Linked DNA regions of Homo sapiens: region 2 is linked to region 1. The links are contacts of gene promoters, found by promoter capture Hi-C in blood cells and fetal thymus (Javierre and others, 2016). All regions are on one chromosome and are shown on one strand. The core of a region is centred on a gene start or on the middle of the fragment in contact, and the rest is flanking DNA. Distances in the headings are between cores, read along the strand shown.

Region 1 (2,993 bases), core at 151-2,650:
CCATTCTGTATCCACAGTAATGGTACCATTTTACATTCCCACCAGCAATGCACAGGAGTTCCAGTTTCCCTGCAAGTCCTTGACAACGCTTGTTCCCATACACATTTGCTTTGGCTGCCTCAAAATGTAGAGCTTGGCAGATTGAGATTGTGGTGGGACGAAAGCCTTTGAAATGGAAAAAAGAGAAAGAGGGAGGGAGAAGAGTTGCGGAGTGGAGAGAGAGAGAGTGTGTGTGAAAAGGAGCTTTTTTCCCACTCTTCCCTGACCCTCATGGGGGCTGCAGCGACTCCTAGAACCTTCAAGCAGCGAGACAGAGGTTCCCTCCACCAGGCGCAGAGCTCTCCTTACACCTGGCCTCCTATTCCCAGCAACTTTAAGGAGATATTTTTAAGTGGCCATGGTTTTATCAAATGCCTATTAAGTTTTTGCCACAAAAGGATTTTATTTAAAATAAAAATAGGGGTAGGTATTTGACTGATGCCCCTTGTGAGTGCTCTAGAGAAGAGGAATGAATACTGACATGTCCTATCTTCCCAGATGCAGAATTGTAAAACAAACATAACTGCTTTTCACATGTGAAAGAAAACTGGCTTAGAACATACTAGCGTTTTCTTTGCCATGAAGGAGTTCACCTTCAGTGACTAAGCCAGAACTACTAGAGTTGCCGGGCCTAGGGACAGGAGACATTGCCAGTGCTTAGCCAGGCTGGCCAGGACTAACCATCTCTGCAAGGAGTCCACAAGAAGCCTCAGGGCAGCCTTTCCCTGCTCCTATCAATTTGAGTTGAGCAACAAACATTTTGACCAAATATCAGCTCTATGGCACAACTCACAGTTACGGTGCCCACAAAACGGAATCTCAGCAAAGCAACTACTACTATGGGAAGAGATCAGGGACTAATATCAGGAGAAAAAATAAGTTTTTCAGTCCTGGGTTTCCAAGTTGGCATCCCCAGGGCAAACCAGCAGGTTGGGAGGGTAGGGGGTGGTGGGTGGGGGCTGCGGAGGGAAGGTGGCTGCTGTCTGTCTGATCAGACCTGGGGCACACCCAAAGAACTCTCCTAGCTTGGGATCCGGTCAGGAAGAAACCAGGACGGTCCCTTTAGGAGGGTGGGCAGGGCTATCTGCCCGGGGGGTGCGGCCGCCCCTGCACAGCAGGCTATCGATTGTACCGGAGGCAGGGTGTGGGGAAACCGGGGCAAGTCCAGCCTCTCAGCAAGGCCAGGAAGCCATTCACTTGGATCCTGGATTTTACTAACGGATTAAACGTGGCATTCCCGCCTTCCCCCATCCGTTACAGACCTAAAAATAGCTCGTCCGAGAGGGGCCGGGAGAGGCTCCACCTCTTCTTGAGGTGGGGCGGGGCGGCTGTAGTAGGAGCTGGAGGCACCAGAGACCCCAAGCCACGAGCTGACCGACGCACCGAGGAGCTCTCTGTCCGCGGTCCCGCAGGTTGGCGGCACTGGAGTGGGCCGGGCAGGCTCTGCCTCCGCCGCAGAGAGCGCCCGGACTGCGTGGGGCTGGGGAAGCATCCCGGGAACGGCGGGCGGTGAGCATTCCGGGAACCATCTCTGGGCTGTCTGGGGCGGTGGAGCAAGTCTGGAGGCGGGACGTGGGGCGAGTATGGGAGCCGCCACCTCGAGACGTCTTCCCGCCGTCCCCGGCTCCAGGAGACCCCACGGTGAGCGGGCCGCGCGGGAAAACTATGCCAGGAATTCGTCCCGGGAGCGGGGCGGGTGGGTAGCTTGGCTGCAGTCCGAGGGATCAGCGATTCGGGAGGTTAAACATTAGCGGGGGCGAACTCCCTGCCGGGGTGCAGCGGGGCGCGGGAGGAGCCGGCTGCGTGCGTCCGCGCTGCCCAGGGCGCGCCCTTCTGGCCCGGCGCGGCCCTGCAGCCCGGCCCCCTCGGCCTGCTCCGAACTGCGGCGCCCAGGGAGGGAAGGACCCGTGCGCGGGGGACGAATGACGGGATGCCCCAAGACTCGGCTTCACTGGGAAGACGGCCTTGGGTTTTTACTTTTTGAAAAAAGAAAAGTGATTTGGGAGGGCTTGATGATCTGAGTGCCGTAGGTAAAGGAGGATTCTTTTAGTAATGAGGTGATTTAAAAGCAATCGCATTGGCATCTTTCGTTCCCCTTCTTCCTTTCCTGGGCTGGACCTCAGCAGGAGGCAGACGTGGTATTTTCATCCTGAGGTGGCTGCGCATAAAGTCCACCGAAGACCTGCTCAGTGCAGGACAGGGATCAGGAGGCAGGGCAGAGGAGGGGGTCCGAGGCTGCCTGGGCAGGGCCTAGTTCACGGAGCACTTCCTAGGGGCCCAGGGCCTAGGCTGCCCCTGCCTGGTCTCCTGGAATTCGATTTCTAACAGGACTTTGGAGAGAGGCCTGGGAAGTATGGGGTGTTCTGACTTGGCTTCTCACACCCTCATCTGCAGATAGGGTGGGTGATCTCTCCCTTCTCAGTTGCAGCCCCTAGCACCTCTCCTCCCCCTCCCGGATGTGAGGACTGGCCAGTGAGAACAATCCTGCTTAGGGAAGGCTGATCCTCCAGTCTAGTGGCTGATAAGGGGCCTTCTGACTGTCTTGGTCAGACACCTCCCTCATCTGGGAATATTTTTTGATACTATCTAACTTGATAAAATACCTCATGAAGTTGTATGCTTCAGGTTGGGAACAGAAACCTGAGTTCATGTGGGCACCATAACTGTGGGTTGTGCCATGGAGCTGATATTTGGTCAAAGGTTTTTTGCTCAACTCAAATTGATAGGAGCAGGGAAAGGCTGCCCTGAGGCTTCTTGTGGACTCCTTGCAGAGATGGTTAGTCCTGGCCAGCCTGGCTAAGCACTGGCAATGTCTCCTGTCCCTAGGCCTGGCAGCTCTAGTAGTTCTGGCTTAGTCACTGAAGGTGAACTCCTTCATGGCAAAGAAAACGCTAGTATGTTCTAAGCCAGTTTTCTTTTACATGTGAAAAGCAATTATGTTTGTTTGTTTTACA
Region 2 (2,993 bases), core at 262-2,761, 110 kb before region 1:
TGTAACTGTCATTGCCTGCCTAAAGGAAGCTTATTAGGTCATCAAAAGAAGAAATTAAACTTCCTAAACTTCTTACGTTAACTTAAAAAACAGCAAGTTGTAAAAATCAGAAGTTAAAAAATGAAACTGGATTAAAAATCAAGCAGGGTTTTTTTCCTTTAAATTCAAAAAGGTCTTAAGGCTCCTAATAAATTACCCACTCACACAAAAAACTGCCAAGGCTCTAAGGAAATGGAGAAGAAAGTATCAGGCTGTTGTACATTGCATATGTACTTTACGAACCCTTTTGTCATCAGGTCAAAGGTCTTCCTGAGTTTCCAAAATGTATTAACACATTCACTTCTTACTACATTCTCTGTTACTTTATAATTTTTTTCCTTAAAGATAGTTTAAATACTTACATTTATTTTTAAAAATAGGATTTATTTTAAGAATTAGACAGACAATACAGGAAAAATGGGTTCTATAATTGAGAGTAAGAAATACATTAGAAACTAGTATGAATGGCAAGAAAGGGGTGAGACAGCAAACATACCTTGGAACAGCTCCTAAAACAATGAGATTGGCTTTCTGCTTGTTGTTTCCAATTACAGCATTTTTCATGTCTCTGAATTAAGGGGAAGAAAAAATAAAGTATGTTGAGACAGCACTGAAGAAAAATCAAAGATCATTCTACTTCATTATGCAATATCTTAGATTTGACAAAGTAAAAGCACTAACCTTTTTTCACCTAAAGTACTAATGAAGGGATAGAGATAGGTGCAGAGTGAATGTGGGGGCTGTAAAACGGCGTATTGTAGAAAGTGAGAGATATCCTGAGTACTGGCGAAAGACTTCCAGTACAGAATTGAGTTCTTCTAGAAAGGGTACCTACCAATACTTTGGATACAAAGGAATACAGGCCACCCTCACGCTCAGCTCTAAGAGTAGGGAGTGAGTTAAACGAACAACAACAACAACAGAAAAAACAGCCCACAGAACATTAACTCCTTGTTTCAATGATCACACTTTGTTCACTTTTTTTTTTACTTCTTTATATATTATTTCTTACAATTCCATTTTATCTGCTTTATTGTCTTACTAACTGTACTCCTTTGTTATTTTCCAATGCATCTTTTAATTTATCACAGTCAGTCTTCAAGTGATATTAGCCCATTGCACATGTATTTTAAGAGCCTTGCATATGTATTTCCACTTTCCCATTCATTTTTTGGGCTGCTGTTATACAATATTTTTAAATTGCTTAGAAACAACATAATACATTGTTACTATTTTTGCTTAAGCAGCCAGTTATCTCTTAAGGCGATTTAAAAAATAACAAAGAATCTTTTACATTTCTCAGATATTCACAGTATTTTTTATTCTAGCTATACAGAGCTCTATACTTCACCAGGAGCAAAACTCTATTCCACAATAAGAGAACCTCTACCACTGATCACTTGGCTCACAAATTTGTGGTTGGTTCAAAAGGAAATGTAGAGAAAAAATAAATAGCTCAAAATAAACCCAGTACTACTAATAAAATGTTTAAAAAAACTTCCCTGGCCGGGCACGGTGACTCACACCTGTAATCCCAGCTCTTTGGGAGGCCTAGGCAGGCAGATTGCTTGAACTCAGGAGTTCAAGATCAGACTGAACAACATGGCGAAACTCCATCTCTACAAATAATACAAAAATTAGCCAGGTGTGGTGGCACGCACTTGTGGTCCCAGCTACCTGGGGGGCTAAGGTAGGAGGATCACTTCAGCTGGGGAGGTGGAGGTTGCAGTGAGCAGAGATCGCGCCACTGCACCCCAGTCAGGGTGACAGAACGAGACTCCATCTCAAAAAAAAAAAAAAGAAAAAAAAATCAACAAATAAATGTTATAGTCAGCATACATTTCTAACACCAATCATATTTACTGGCATTAAAGAACCTGGTAACGATTAACCCTTGTCTTCAATTGCCTTTTTTGATTATTGCAGAAAAATACTGCAACAACTAGTGATGTGCTAAAAGCAGATTTTCCCTACAAGTTTCTGAATGGCATTTTTACAAGTCAAGCCAAATACTGAGAATGCCTGGTCTTTCTTCCATTAGCTCAGTGCCTGAGGGTAGGGCTTTTTTTCCAGGCCTGACCTATCCCTCTGTAAAGTATCCCTCAGATCTTCTATATGGTTTACAAGAAATAAGTAGCAATTTTTTTGTTGTTGTTTATGGGACTGAACTGAATGAAGTTTACTGAGGTTGTTAGCAAGTTCTGATACATGAATATAAAACTATATGATATCAAAGGATCAATTAGCAAAGTTAAAGTTAGTAAGAGATTTCTAAGCTCCCGCATCCTCATGGATGCCTGTTTTCTTTAGAGGCTTTAGTTCCTAATCATCAGCATATGGACCTTAACCTACCAGCTTGTTGTTCACTTTCATTGTCTTCCTTTCTCTTAATGTGTTCTGCCTATACTAATGTAGAACATTCATTTATCCAGCCCCTACCTACTTAGAGTCTGTGTAGGCTAAGTGCCATTCTGAATGCTTTCTATTCCAGAACTCCCAACCCTAATATTTCCCCAGTTTTTCCTCTCCATTCTTCTTAAGCAGAAATGAGCGGTCCCTAACATTACCAAATGAACCCATTCCAAACATCTCAAACCATGCCATGTTTTTACAGACAAGAGCAAACAAAAACCTGTCCAACACCAATTTTCTAATTCTCTTAATAGTTTACAAAAAGGACATGAAGGAGGTAACTGATGGCAACAGAGGAAATGCCAACTAAAGAGAACACAATACAATGGAACAATGTCTAAAGAAAAAGATTCTCGCTTTGGCTTTAGTAAGTAAATATACCTGTGCTAGATAAGGAAAAAAAGATGTTAATAAATTCTATTCAATTGTTGCTATAAAGGAATGTTAATAGATCACTTCCATGAAGAATTAAAATCAAAAGGATTAACAGGATTAAGCAATCAATTTCAGATGACAACATTCAGCCATCTAGATGAAGCTTC

Evidence for each region. Contacts are between HindIII fragments. The CHiCAGO score rates a contact against its expected background, and 5 or more counts as called.
Region 2: a fragment that was not itself captured here is called in contact with the fragment with the promoter of DZIP1L in region 1 in 2 of 17 cell types (M1 macrophages and monocytes); the score reaches 6.8 in M1 macrophages.

The regions. Positions count from the first base shown.
Region 1 is chr3:138,114,015-138,117,007 of GRCh38, reverse strand. It overlaps DZIP1L (DAZ interacting zinc finger protein 1 like), which reads left to right and starts at 1,400. Exons shown (of 16, transcript NM_173543.3): 1 at 1,400-1,680. RefSeq lists enhancers at 1,088-1,587, 1,588-2,089 and a silencer at 1,746-1,965. The HindIII fragment of the contact is 15,110 bases long and covers 1-2,993 here.
Region 2 is chr3:138,219,540-138,222,532 of GRCh38, reverse strand. It overlaps ARMC8 (armadillo repeat containing 8), which reads right to left. Exons shown (of 22, transcript NM_001363941.2): 3 at 536-607. Among named protein-coding and RNA genes, the nearest start is that of ARMC8, 34 kb to the right of the region's middle. The HindIII fragment of the contact is 2,960 bases long and covers 32-2,991 here.